3 separate regions of the Homo sapiens genome follow, and all the other regions are linked to region 2. Evidence: promoter capture Hi-C in 16 types of primary human blood cells and fetal thymus (Javierre and others, 2016). All regions are on one chromosome and are shown on one strand. Each heading gives the region's core, a stretch centred on a gene start or on the middle of the fragment in contact. The rest is flanking DNA. Distances are from core to core; before and after follow the strand shown. Region 1 overlaps DCUN1D5 (defective in cullin neddylation 1 domain containing 5). Region 2 holds the start of KBTBD3 (kelch repeat and BTB domain containing 3). Region 3 overlaps BIRC3 (baculoviral IAP repeat containing 3).

Region 1 (4,780 bases), core at 1,322-3,821, 3.0 Mb after region 2:
CCTGGGCTCAAGTAATCCTCCCACTTCAGCCTCTCAAGTAATTGGGACCACAGGCACATGCCACCACACCTGGCTATTTTTTTTTTGAGAGACAGGGTCTCACTATGTTGTCCAGGCTGGTCTCAAACTCCTGGGCTCAAGTGATGCTCCAGCTTGTCTCACTATGTTGCCCAGGTTGGTCTCAAACTCCTGGGCTCAAGTGATCCTCTAGCCTTGGCCTCCCAAAGTGTTGCAATTACAGGCGTAAGCCACTTTGCCCAGTATTAATTTTAATTTAATTTTGTAGATATTTATATTAGACACCTATATTATGTAAGGCACAGTATCACTTACTGGTGATCACAGCGAGGAATAAGATGCAGCTTTTGTCCTTTAGTCATATTCTACTAGGTCAGGGAAAACATTACAATACTGTAACCCAGCCAACCTTTTTGGCACCAGGGATCAGTTTCGTAGAAGACAGTTTTACCATGGATGGGGCTGGGGAGAAGGGAAGGATGGCTTTGGGATGAAACTGTTCCACCTCAGATTATCAGGCATTAGATTCTCATAAGGCGCATGCAACCTAGATCCCTCGCACGCACAGTTCACAATAGGGTTCGCATTCCTGTGAGAATCGAATGCCGCTGCTGTTCTGACAGGAGGTGGATATGCTGGCTCACTCGCCTGCCGCTTGCCTCCTGCTATACAGCCTGGTTTCTAACAGGCCACAGGCTGGTAATTATGCTCAGCCCAGACATTGGGCACCTTGCTGTAACCATAAACCAAGGAGAACGTGACATGTGCTAGAGTGGAAATACAAGATACTATGAAAGCACAGATGAGTAAGGTTAATTTCAGCTGAGTAGGTAGGTAAATGTAGGTGTGGCCTGTGAACTAGAACATGAAGAATGATTAGGATTTTGTTTGTTGAGGATACAGGAAAATGTTTCAGAAGAGGGAAATTGTGAGCAGGACCTTGAGGAAGGAAAGCATATGTTTGAAGGAAGTAGTTTGATTTCTTAAAATTGTAAAGTACATAAAAAAATTGCCAGGATAGGTTTTGAATTCTAATATTTTGAGTGATGGCTTCACTGTAGAGTGCTTTAGCTAATACGTTGAGAGAGTTTAAATCTATGTTACAGATATTGGGAAACCATCAGAGATTTTAAAGCACAGGAATTTTAAAAGATTTGGGGGATAATTTTCAATGAGCAATTGTTTTTAATATTTTAAAGTCACAGTCTCTTTTGAGAGTCTTATGAGAACTATGGACCTCGTTCCCATTAAGAGGCACATGTACTGCTAGACACAAAAATTTGATGTGCTCTCAGGAGGTTATGGAATTTCTCTTCCTTCGTCTATAGATACGAGGTTTCAAGGATACTTGGCGAGTTTTTGTTCTGGCATAGTGTACTAGAGTGGAGGTCTTTTCTCATATCTGCTAGCTGAAAGTCTGGTGTTGGAGCAAGGGTGAAATACTATACCAGTGGAGAAAACTGAATATAGACCTTTGAAGAGGACCGTACTTGATTATGATAATGAAAAGGACAAGACAAGAGCATCTGACAACAGTGATAGTAATTAAGCTGCCTGCCGGTAGGTTGCAGTTTGTAAATCTAGTCTCTATTGAGCCCCGGACTTTGAAGTGTAAAAGGAATGGCATGGCTTGACCGTCTTAGCGAGAGGGGAATAGGGAACATTTATATGATTTTTTTTTTTGGTGGGGGTGGAAGAGGAGAGTAAATGAAATGCCATCGTGTGTGATGTGACTGTCATTCATTTAGCATTTGGGGCCCAACTACTAATTGCCATTAGCATCCTTTCCCTCTGTTCTCTCTTAAGGTCATTATGACAATTTCAAAATGCCCCTCTGCACATTTTCAAATACCCCTAGAAGTAGATGGTATTGTTCTGGTTGAGAAAGCTTATTTAGAGGAAGTTCTAAATCCAGAACTTTGTGACACAATTCTTCGTGTTACACATCAATGTGTCACAGCACAGTCACTGGGACTTATGGATTAGGAAGAGAGCCTCACTTACATCTAATACATGCATGAAACTTTCTTCTCACTTTAAAGGTCTTTAATGAAACACAAGTTCAAAAGCCTCCCTTTGTAATCAGTTGCTTAGCAATACCAGGAAATTAATTTCCGAGTCCTAACGTTGAAATTAATACCCATTTCTTCTCTTTCTAACTACAGTGGCCTTGGAGAATGGTGTATTGTATTGTGCCAGTGTTCCCTCAAATCTGTGTGGTTTTATTTGGTTGTTATTTGGAAAACTATCTCTTGCTTTCCATAGTACGCTAGTTAAGTATGCATTTCTTTTTATTTCGGAGGAAATATTCTTTTTTCTAAACTTCCCAATTTCTGAGGTATTGATGTTAGTATTTTGGAGCTAGATTCGATATAAAAATTGTATTGCTGTTAGTAACTGCTTCGGTATGTTGGTTTTGCCAGATGTGTTCACAGTCTTCATGATACTGTTAATAAATATGGAGGTTTGTGCTCTTATTCTTTTTTTTTTATTTGAGACGGCGTCTTGCTCAGTCTCCCAGGCTGGAGTGCAGTGGCGCGATCTCGGCTCACTGCAAGCTCCGCCTCCCGGGTTCACGCCATTCCCCTGCTTCAGACTCCTGAGTAGCTGGGACTACAGGCACCCGCCACCACACCCAGCTAATTTTTTTTGTATTTTTAGTAGAGACGGGGTTTCACCATGTTAGCCGGGATGGTCTTGATCTCCTGACCTCGTGATCCACCCGCCTCGACCTTCCAAAGTACTGGGATTACAGGCGTGAGCCACCGTGCTGGCCTATTCTTTTTTTACTACAAAAAAGTCTGTTGGATTCTTTCTCTGCTCAAGATTTACAGTAGACCATTAGGAATGGTATGACGTAGTTTCTACCAAGGTGTGTAGTGTAGGTGATTTTTAATCCATTTGCCTCAAAAGAAGCATATCAAGGACTGTGCTAAGCATTTAACACATGGATTCTCATTTAATCTTTATGGTTGTCCTATGAAATTATTATTGTTACCATTTTAAAAATCAGATAACTGAGGCTGAAAAAGGTTAAGTAACTTGCCATATAGTTGTCCTATTAAATTATTATCGTCGTTTTAAAAATGAGGAAACAGGCTGAAAACGGTTTAGTAACTTGCTGAAAGCCACATGACCAGAAATAGAGAAGCTAGAATTTTAACCAATCTGTTTGACTTGAAAATTTGTTCTTCCCTTCACTTTATTTCTTAAGCTTATTGAAATTACATAAGTAAGATAGTAACTTTGTGTACCCATGAAATGTAAAATATTTGGAAAATATTATAATATCTTGGATTCTTATCTCCTTAGTGACTTCTCAGTCACTATGTGCTTTGTGATTTTGTTTGATCTACCATTTACCACTAAGTTTCTCCCAGATAGGAATTTTGAAACATTATATAATTAAATAAATATATCACCTACCCTGTGGTTTATTTTTGGTGGTCACACTTTTATTTAACAAATATTTTTGGAGTGCTATATGTCAGGTCCTGTGTTATGCTATGACAGTGATTTTTTAAATCTGATGGTAAGGAAAGAAAGAACTTTGAATGTCAGGAGGCATCCTTTATCTTCTTTGCCCCCTTAACACTTAAGTCTCAAGCCTGTTAAGATTCTGTGTGAGATTTTGTATGAAAGATGTGACTCACATTATGAAGACTTCATCTCCATATTTTCAAACATTATAGTGGCATGTAATCTGAGAAATTTGCTTTGCATATCCCCATGGTAGAAGTCAACTTTCATTAAAGCATTATTTTTCACATAATGAATAATTTTTGCACTAACAGAAACCACTTAGTGAAATAGTAGGTAATGAATTTCTAATAAGTAAGAATAAATTTTTCTTGTTTCCTCATCAAGCATATTGTGCATTCATTCATATATAAGGAATTCTGGTTAACTTATCCAAATTTTGATTTCCATTTCTGGCAATATGGCTACTAAATGTGTGGAGAAACCATTTCTCATGTAAAACGCTTAAATGCTGGATAACATATAAAAACATCTTGGCCAGGCCCGGTGGCTCACGCCTGTAATCCCAGCACTTTGGGGTTTGAGGCGGGCAGATCATGAGGTCAAGAGTTTGAGACTAGCCTTGCTGACTTGGTGAAACCCCGTCTCTACTAAAAATACAAAAATTAGCTGGGCATGGTGGCATGCGCCTATAGTCCCAGCTACTCGGGAGGGTGAGGCAGAAGAATCACTTGAACCCCGGAGGCGTAGGTTGCAGTGAGCTGAGATTGCACCTCTGCACTCCAGCCTGGGCGACAGAGTGAGACTCCATCTCAAAAAAAAAAAACTTTTTAAAAGTACACTTGGACTTGCCTGTAAGGAAAATAATCAGAGGCCAGAAATGATGAGTGATGGTGATTACATAGAGATCTATGGAGCTGACATTTACCCTGAAGAAACCTACCTATTCCTAGTCACCTAGGGTCTGGTTGTTGACATGTCATGCATGTTGAGAACAGAGGACACATTTCAAGCAAGACCTTAATAGGATGGGAATCAGATTAAAAACATTGATGACAAACTTATGCAATAAGTGGAAATTTGATAACCTGGGCCTGGTTTTACACACAATTAGAGGTAAAGGGCTTCTACCTGAGAGAATTCCTCGTCCTCCATCTTCTGTCTTGCAGATTTGGGGCTGGAATTCACTATCTGACCCAAGCCAAAAATGTGTTTTAGAATAAGACTCCCCTGTTTGTAATGGAAGCAGTTCTTCCATAGAGAAATTTTACACAAACCTCAA
Region 2 (4,188 bases), core at 715-3,214:
ATGCTTAAGTAGATAAAAAGTTAAAGCCCGCCTTAGCAATTCCCTCTCCTTTGCTAGTGACCAAAGTTAACAGCTGGCATCCTGTCAGTCTTTTCTGTATTTAAATATATGTGCATTTACATGTTTTTGCTAACTCTACATATAAACACAAACATGAGATTATACTTATGCAGTATTCTACCACATATAAGCTTTAAATTTATAAGTATTGGGAAGTATTTTATGTCTGTACACACACGTCTGGTCCATGCAGTTTTAACTGTAGCATATTTCATAATATTATTTCCCCTTTATTGGACATTTTAGGCTGGCTCTAGACTTGCTGTCAAAAACAACTCTGCAGTGAGCAACCCTACTGTACCTACATCTGTGCATATGTATTTCTAGATCCCATATATTGATCACCCAGCTTCAACAATTAGCAAGGCATGACCTATCTTGTTCTGCTCTCTCCCACCTCCAATTATTATTTTTTAAATAATTACTAAAAACACACACACAAAAAAACAAGAATATAAGATGACAAAGTATATATTTTTAAAAATATCTTTCAGGTTTTTTTCTTCTTCAATTCTAACACTGACTTTTAAAAACTGCAGGCTTTTAAATGTAGCTTATTTTACAATTCCTTACAAATGAGTAAAAAATTTTCACCAATGTGCCTTAAAAATTATCAACTAGTCTACATTTCAAACAGAAAGTGTTTCAATATGGGACATTTTTAAGAAAGGACTGTCTTTTAAATGATGGTAATTCACGGTTGTTTCAAATTGCACCATATTGTACAGATTACTTGTTTTGAAATCCAGTTTTCCATTTGTTGCTTCAAAATACATAGCTAAAATAAATAAATCTACGTAAAATACTGTTTCCCATGGCATCTAGTGAGGAAGGTATCCTCTCTGGCTTCAATTTCATTGGCTTCAATCCCGGGGAGCGCAGGGCTACAAACTAAATCATACTGTCAATAATTTCTAGGGCCTACCACGTGCAGGGAGTCCTTGGAGAATGATGGGATATTTAACAGGCAGAATAAGCATAGGCTATGAACGCACACAAACAAAAAAAAATAACATTTAAAGATAAAGACATAAAAACATTCATTACAGAAAAACCCAATTTTGTCGGCCTTCCCTACACTTATTTCATGGTTTAGGAGGGTCTCCATTTGAAATAACAAGGGGAAAGAGATAATGTTTACAGCCATCGCGGCCTCCAAGGCGGTTACAAAGGCCGTGGAAACCAGGCCGTGCGTCGCCCACAACTCCGCAGCGCCGGCTGCTGTCGCCCGGGCCGGCCACAGGCTCCACAGCGAGAGGGTCGCGGCCAGCGCGGGAGTGTCGGGTCTCCACAGCCCGGCCCGCCTCCCCCAAGATCTGCTTCCTAGGCTCTAAATACCAAAAAAGACCTGTAGTACCATGGCTGCCTTAGCGTCCCGGGCAAAGACGAACTGGCCAATGCGCTCCTTCTCCTCGGGCTGAATCGATCGCACTGCCAGCAGCCATTCGGCTCGGCTCGGCAGCCAAGTGCCGCAGGAAAAGGCCCAGCGCACGCCCTCCATGGATGGCACCAAGCAGAACCGTTTGGCAGGGAAAACCATACACTGAAAGCGGACCTCGCCGCTATCTCGGGCCTGATGGCGCGGACGCAAACGTGGCCCCACCCCCTTCTTCCCGGCGTCCGTGCGCAGGGGACGGGCCGTCGCTACGCAGACTGGCCCACCGACAGCCCTCCCAGCCCGCCCCCGACTCAGCCACCTCCTCTCGGAGAAAGCAGCTGGGGGCGGAGACGGAGATCAGCCCTGCGCTTTGCGGCATTGTATGACGTCAAGTAGGCGAGGCTTCGGAGGCGAGCGAAGGGCGGGACCAAGGCCAAGAGCCCGACAGTTACGCCACTCACACTTGCGGAAGAGTTAACGGGACAGCGGTGCAGGCCAATCGCAACCAGTCCTCTGGAGGCAGGGAGACTGGGGTGGAGACTTCGGAGACTGCAGTTGCAGGTGGGTGAGCTCCGGGGTCTGAGGGAGGAGTGGGATGGTAGCCCTTATTCTCAGGGTCTGAGTTGGCCCCTGTGACCCACAGAGAAGAGAATGTCCTTGGCTTCAGCTGCTTCGTGTACGGGGCACGAGAGGTTTCCATCTCTAGGAGGGGGTCTGCAGTGGTGCCCCCTGCAGTTGTGCAACGCATCAGCCCTGAGTTCCTTCTTTCCCTGCCCCCATCCGCATCAGCCTAAGACCCACCCTCACACAGTACGCTCCCGACCCTTAGCAGCAGCCTACCTGAAACCCTCCCTCCGAAGGCCGAGCAGAGGCACTATCCCCAGTGCGCAACACTGACCCCGCCTGGATCCGAGGCTGCCAGCGAGCAGCTGAGCTAATGCTGGCTGTTTATTTGGGGCGATGAAGCGACCCAGGTGCTGTTTTGCTATTGCCAAGCCTGGGCTAGAGCACTAGCGAGAAAACAGGATTCCATTGTTGAGGTATCAGTGTTTCCATCATGACAGAGGTCCTTGCTCTAACAGCAACAGAAACAAGTAAATAACTTTGCTCAGTTATTTTCTCAGACTTTGCGAAGGGTCATATTGATGTATGTCTGTTTCCTTAGTTGTTCCGTGTAGGCTGTTGTTGACTCTCGTATGAAAGCCCACGCGATCCAAGTGCCCTGCAGGTTTTGGTCCAGGGAAAAGTTGGTCTCTGCAGATGACTGTAAATGACTACCTGGAGGTCGATTAAAGTGCGGTACTGCGGGATTCAGCCGATTTCCTTCTTCCTCTGACTGCCCGGAAATATCAGCCAAAGGCCAGCGGTAGTAATTAACACAATTACCTGCCTATGATTTCTGTCCTATTTAAGATGGGTTCTATTATGTTTTTATCTATACTTGTCTTCATTAACTTTTCGTGATATCATAAGCCCCCCGAATCCCTCGAAAGTAGATGGGATTCTGAGCACACACACACACAAATTCAGATCCCCAAAGGACAGTAAAACGAATTATTGGCTTAATATATCATCTTAGCTAACCAAAAGCCTGTGTCAGCTGCCATGTTGAAAATCTGCTTACCAGCTGCAGGGAGCTTACAATCTGGTAAGGCAAATAAATCATACGCATAAAAAGTACAATAAGAGACAGTGTAAAGATACGTAAGTGATACTAATACCCATATCAGCAATGATCATAACTCACTTCTCCATTTTTAACTAAGAATCATATAACCTTTCCTTCTTGTCGTTTTAAACTGATTTTTATAACTTTGATACATTACGTTTCTGTTTCCAAAACACTTCTGTGTACGTTATTGCACATGTTCTGTGCACTAGTTATTACTGATGGAGACAATGAGCTCAGAAAGAGAATTTGTTTAAATTCAGGAATTCATATCCCATTATTTTACCATCGAGCAAGATCTCTGTGTATTAGATCTATGGAGCCTAATACACAGACAGTAACGTAGGGATTATTTGTACTTGGTCTAGAATCTAGAATATTCTCCCCTTCTCCCATTATCACATTCCTTGTTTCCTCTGTATCATTCAGGCCCAAATCTCATACCAAACAGAATGTCTCTGTTCACCTAGTCTAAAATAGCTTACTCTCTCCACTTCCAAACCTCAGCCCCAAACCTATCACCCTGTGAACATATTTTATAGGTTTGTTTAATCCCCTTCCCTGTGTGGTTTTACAAATTCTCCAGAGCTTAGCTTAAACCTTCTCTTAGGGCCTACTTCAGAGTACCTTTTTCCAAAACAGTATTGTTTATGTAATTCATTTGGCAGTTATTCTAGTATTGCCTTATGACGTCTCTCCTATTGTCCTGAATTATTTTCATGTGTGTTATCTTGCAAAATAGAATGTACAGTACTTGAGAGGGAATGTCATGTATACCTTTTACAAATAGTATACATGAGTAAATGTTATTAATGACTCCACAATAGATTTATTACTGTCAAGGGTAACACTGCTTTTTATATTCTATCTGCCTTTACTTCCCTCACTTTTATTAAGGAAATATAAATATGCAGTTCATAACTTGCTTAACTATATTAAATGAACCCAACAATTTTATTAAAATATTTTTTACTGCATTGGTCAGGGGAAGAAGAGGACTAAAGTAATAGGGGCTCACTCAGTCTGTAATGATCATCTTGCTTGGTGCTGATCTGTGGCTTCTTAGCAGGATTCTGAGGGA
Region 3 (4,328 bases), core at 1,558-4,057, 3.8 Mb after region 2:
AACAGGTGCTGCAAAAAGAGACTCTGCCCAAACTACCAATAACAAAACTGAACTTCATTGCTATATTCAGGTTACTTTTGGAAAAACAGAATCATGATATATATTTCATTCCCTTTGTTAAAAATTTTCTTAAGATAATTTAGATATGGCTGTAAAATAAGACCTTTCAAAGATTTTAAATTTTTTGTCCCCCTCAAAGAACTAACATTGTAGAGTTATTCAACTTATCACCTCCTGAAAACATTTTTGAACTTTTGTTTTTCTAAATGTTTCTGAAGCCAACATCAAATCTACTCTGATAGTGGATTTATTTTTTAAAACAGTCAAAAGTTACCAGATGCCATCTGTAGGCTAAGATGGATAATCAAATTGCATCAATTTAGTTTTGGTCAGAAATTATTTCATGGATAGCATACCTTGAACCAGAATTTATCATGACAAAAAAAATAATAAATTTACCATTTCAACAGCAGAGACCTTGTCAAAATTCAGAATTTCTCAATTATGATTTACTAGCCATTAGTAAAGAGGTTCTGAGTCGATAATACTAGCAATGACCAATAAGCAAGTCACTGTGGCTTTTTTTTTTTTTTTTTTTTTTTTTTACCAGTGGTTTGCAAGCATGGTTTCCTGGATCTCACAGACGTTGGGCTTTTCAACTGCAGACTTCAATGCTTTGTTTCCAGGTGGCAGGAGAAACATCACATCTCATTACCAACAATTATTTCCCTCAAAGGTAAGTAATTGTATCTAACTTCAATATTCCTTTCCCTGGCCAAAAATTTTACACATTGTTATAAAAATCTTCTTTGTATTCATCACTGTCTTTATATTAATTTTCTAAGTTTCTTCATTTCCTAAAATGTAACCTTCAACCATCATTCTCATCCTCATCATTCTCAGCGGTAACAGCCCATTTAAACAAACTTTTGGACGTTTAAAATATCAGTGGCCTTGTAAATAACTGGATAATTTCTTGACCAATCATCACATTTATCTTTTTACTTCCTCTAAATTTGTTGCACATATCAAAAAGCTTTGTTCTTGATTTTTCTTTGTCACTGTAGAAGTATTTTAATGTGTCAAAACTTTCATCTGCATGTTTCTTTAATTTGCAGTGGATTGATTATTAGCTCTTTGTTCCAAATAACTGTCACTCATTTTAAAATCTTTCCCAAACACAGGTACTATTTCTATTCTACATAATGGGAGAATGTGCCAGTAGGAGACTGCCTGGCCAACTCTGAAAAAAATGCTTTAACAATATGCCCCAGCTAGAATCACTTTTCCTTTATTTCCACAAATCAAATTCAAAATCAAACTCATTATGGTATACCTTATATAACTCGATCATGTTTATAAAATTAGCATTCTTTGGATAGTAAAACACCAGTTAATACTTAATTTGTTTACCCATGCACAAAACTACCTCCCGAGATTAGACTAAGTCCCTTTAAGGATTTTAGGTCTCCATTTTGAGATGTTTTGATTTATAGAAGAAACTGAAAAAAAAATCTAGAAGAAGTCGTTTTCCTCCTTTGTAAACCTGTTCAAAAACAAACAAAAAGACAGTTTTAAAACTCAAACGACTCATGGATGGAACACAATGACTTTTTAAAAAATCATTTTCTCCAAAATAGAGTACTAGTAATTACTGATCGTTTACCATGTATCAGGTGCTTTACTAGGCACTGTAGAGGCCAAAAAGAGATAAAAAACAGAGGCCTCTGCCTGGTGCAGTGGCTCACGCCTGTAATCCCAGCATTTTGGGAGGCCAAGACAAGTGGATCACTTGAGGTCAGGAGTTCAAAACCAGCCTGGCCAAAATGGTGAAACCCCATCTCTACTAAAAATACAAAAATTAGCTGGGTGTGGTGGTACGCGCCTGTAATCCCAGCTACTCCGGAGGCTGAGGCAGGAGAATCATGTGAGCCTGGGAGGTGGAGGTTGCAGTGGGCCGAAATAGTGCCACTACACTCCAGCCTGGGTGACACAGCAAGACTCTGTCTCAAAAATAAAATAAAATAAAATAAAACCCAGAGGTTTCAAACTGGAAGACATATTATGTTTGGCTTACATAGAATTGCATTATAGTTCTTTACTAAGTTTTTATTTTTATTTTGAAATTTATTTATACTTAGAGAAAGCTTACAAAAATAATAGTTTCTGCATACTCTGCACTTAGCTTCCCCAAAGCTAACATCTTACCTAATTACAGTGCAATTAAAGAAACCAGAAAATTCACATTGTACCATGCTGTAGATTAATCTGCATGCCTCATTTGAATTTAATCCAGTTTCCAAATCCATTTTTTTCTTGGACCACAGTATTTTTAAATCTTACCATTAATTGCCAACATGTTTAAATGTAAGAGACTTCCCATCACATTCTAGATTCCAAGCTTCTCTTGAAACATCAAAAGATCTAGCAACACTGGGCCTATAGTCCTGCAGGGCAGCAATCAGCTAAAGCTGAGCAGCAGCTGTGCCCTTTAGAGAGGGAACATGTTCTCTTTGATTCCCTGACACTGGGACTGACTGTTCTGGTAGTCTCCACTAACAGTAACAGTCTAGCAATAACAGACTGTTGCTATTTGTCATTGAACTGGCACTATTGTTTTTCTTACAGCAGAATTATGAGAAAGTGAAATCAATGTAACACATGTGTCCATCAAAAGTAACAAAAATGAAAAGTAGAGAAAAAGGACATATGTTTTGAGAAAAATAGGATAATTTTTGTCTTTGTGGAAAGGAAGGATATTCCTTCATATCAAATACGTAAACAGAGTATGCTTTCATTTAAAAGAGACACCCCACAAGGCCTCATGCCATGGCTCACTCCTGTAATCCCAGCACTTTGGGAGGCTGAGGTAGATGGATTGCTTGAGCCCAGGTGTTTGAGACCAGCCTCAAACTGGGTGACTTGGCAAAACACCATCTCTACAAAGAAACTCAAAAATTAGCCAGACATGGTGGCACCTGCCTGTGGTCCCAGCTACTTGAGAGGCTGAGGCAGGAGGTTCACTTGAGCCCATGAGGCAGAGCTTGCAGTGTGAGACTGCATAACTGCACTCCAAACTGGGTGACAGAGCAAGACCCTGTCTCAAAAAAAGAGAGAGAGAGAGAAAGAGAGACACTGAGAGTTTTTCTCATTTATATCACCTCCATTTGAGTTTGCAAACCCCTTACACAAATCTTATCCTAAAGAAGCTTTAGGTCAGGCGTGGTGGCTCACGCCTGTAATCCCAGCACTTTGGGAGGCCAAGGAAAGCAGATAACTTGAGATCAGGAGTTCGAGACCAGGCTGGCCAACATGGTGAAACCCTGTCTCTACTAAAAATCCAAAAAAAAAAACCATCGGGCGTGGTGGCACGCACCTGTATTTCCAGCTACTCAGGAGACTGAAGCAGGAGAATCACTTGAACCCGGGAGGTGAAGGTTGCAGTAAGCCAAGATCACACCACTGCACTCCAGCAAGGCATATATTTGTGGAAATTTAGGCAACAACTATACAATAAATATACACAAATATGCCAAGATGTCAACCCTAGATCACTTCAACCTCTGTCCTAATCATTTCCAACACCTAGATGCAACCCTGCAGACTGGGACCAGCATCACTTAAGACTCCTCTGCCATCCCTTAGCAATAGGCTCAGCTCCCTAGCCCATGCCCTATGCACCTCTTCTAAACCTTCAACACCTTCCTCAAATTTCTCCACTGCACTCCATCTCATTTTCAGTCAATTACTTTGCCTTCTGTTTCTCAAAGAAAAGAGACATCATTGAGCAGGAACCTTCTCACGTTCTCATATCCAAGCCGTTTTGGCTCACAACCTACTTGCTGTCTCAGTTAAAGACTTGCCCCCTTATGGGATCCTACACTGTCCTACTGCCTCAGAAATCTTGTTCTTAATCCCATCCCCTCATTGCTTCAACTCTCATTCCTGTCACTCTCGACTGGCCTTTTTCCTTTCACATAACCATGCTTAAATCTATCTCAACTTTCAAATGAAAGAAATTTTTAAAATTCTCTTTCGGCCGGGTGTGGTGGCTCATGCCTGTAATCCCAGCACTTCAGGAGGCTGAGGCGAGTGGATCACGAGGTCAGGAGACTGAGACCATCCTGGCTAACACGGTGAAACCCCGTCTCTACTAAAAAAAATACAAAAAATTAGCCGGGTGTGGTGGCATGCACCTGTAGTCCCAGCTGCTCAGGAGGCTGAGGCAGGAGAATCGCTTGAACCCGGGAGGTGGAGGTTGCAGTAAGCCGAGACTGCACCACTGCACTCCAGCCTGGGTGACAGAGTGAGACTCTGTCTCAAAAAAA

What was found. Contacts are between HindIII fragments. The CHiCAGO score rates a contact against its expected background, and 5 or more counts as called.
Region 1: a contact is called between a fragment that was not itself captured here and the fragment with the promoter of KBTBD3 in region 2, in 1 of 17 cell types (M0 macrophages). The highest score is 5.5, in M0 macrophages.
Region 3: a fragment that was not itself captured here is called in contact with the fragment with the promoter of KBTBD3 in region 2 in 1 of 17 cell types (naive CD8 T cells); the score reaches 6.3 in naive CD8 T cells.

The regions. Positions count from the first base shown.
Region 1 is chr11:103,074,932-103,079,711 of GRCh38, reverse strand. All of the region lies in intron 4 of DCUN1D5 (defective in cullin neddylation 1 domain containing 5), which reads left to right. Among named protein-coding and RNA genes, the nearest start is that of DCUN1D5, 15 kb to the left of the region's middle. The HindIII fragment of the contact is 1,326 bases long and covers 1,909-3,234 here.
Region 2 is chr11:106,075,123-106,079,310 of GRCh38, reverse strand. KBTBD3 (kelch repeat and BTB domain containing 3) reads left to right here and starts at 1,964. Exons shown (of 4, transcript NM_198439.3): 1 at 1,964-1,999; 2 at 2,604-2,804. It overlaps AASDHPPT (aminoadipate-semialdehyde dehydrogenase-phosphopantetheinyl transferase), which reads right to left and starts at 1,649. Exons shown (of 6, transcript NM_015423.3): 1 at 1,418-1,649. The coding sequence starts at 1,600. RefSeq lists enhancers at 1,382-1,621, 1,932-2,041, 2,052-2,171. The HindIII fragment of the contact is 8,387 bases long and covers 194-4,188 here.
Region 3 is chr11:102,319,055-102,323,382 of GRCh38, reverse strand. It overlaps BIRC3 (baculoviral IAP repeat containing 3), which reads right to left. Exons shown (of 9, transcript NM_001165.5): 2 at 1-1,546. Among named protein-coding and RNA genes, the nearest start is that of BIRC3, 3.7 kb to the right of the region's middle. RefSeq lists enhancers at 2,917-3,026, 3,648-3,727. The HindIII fragment of the contact is 808 bases long and covers 2,404-3,211 here.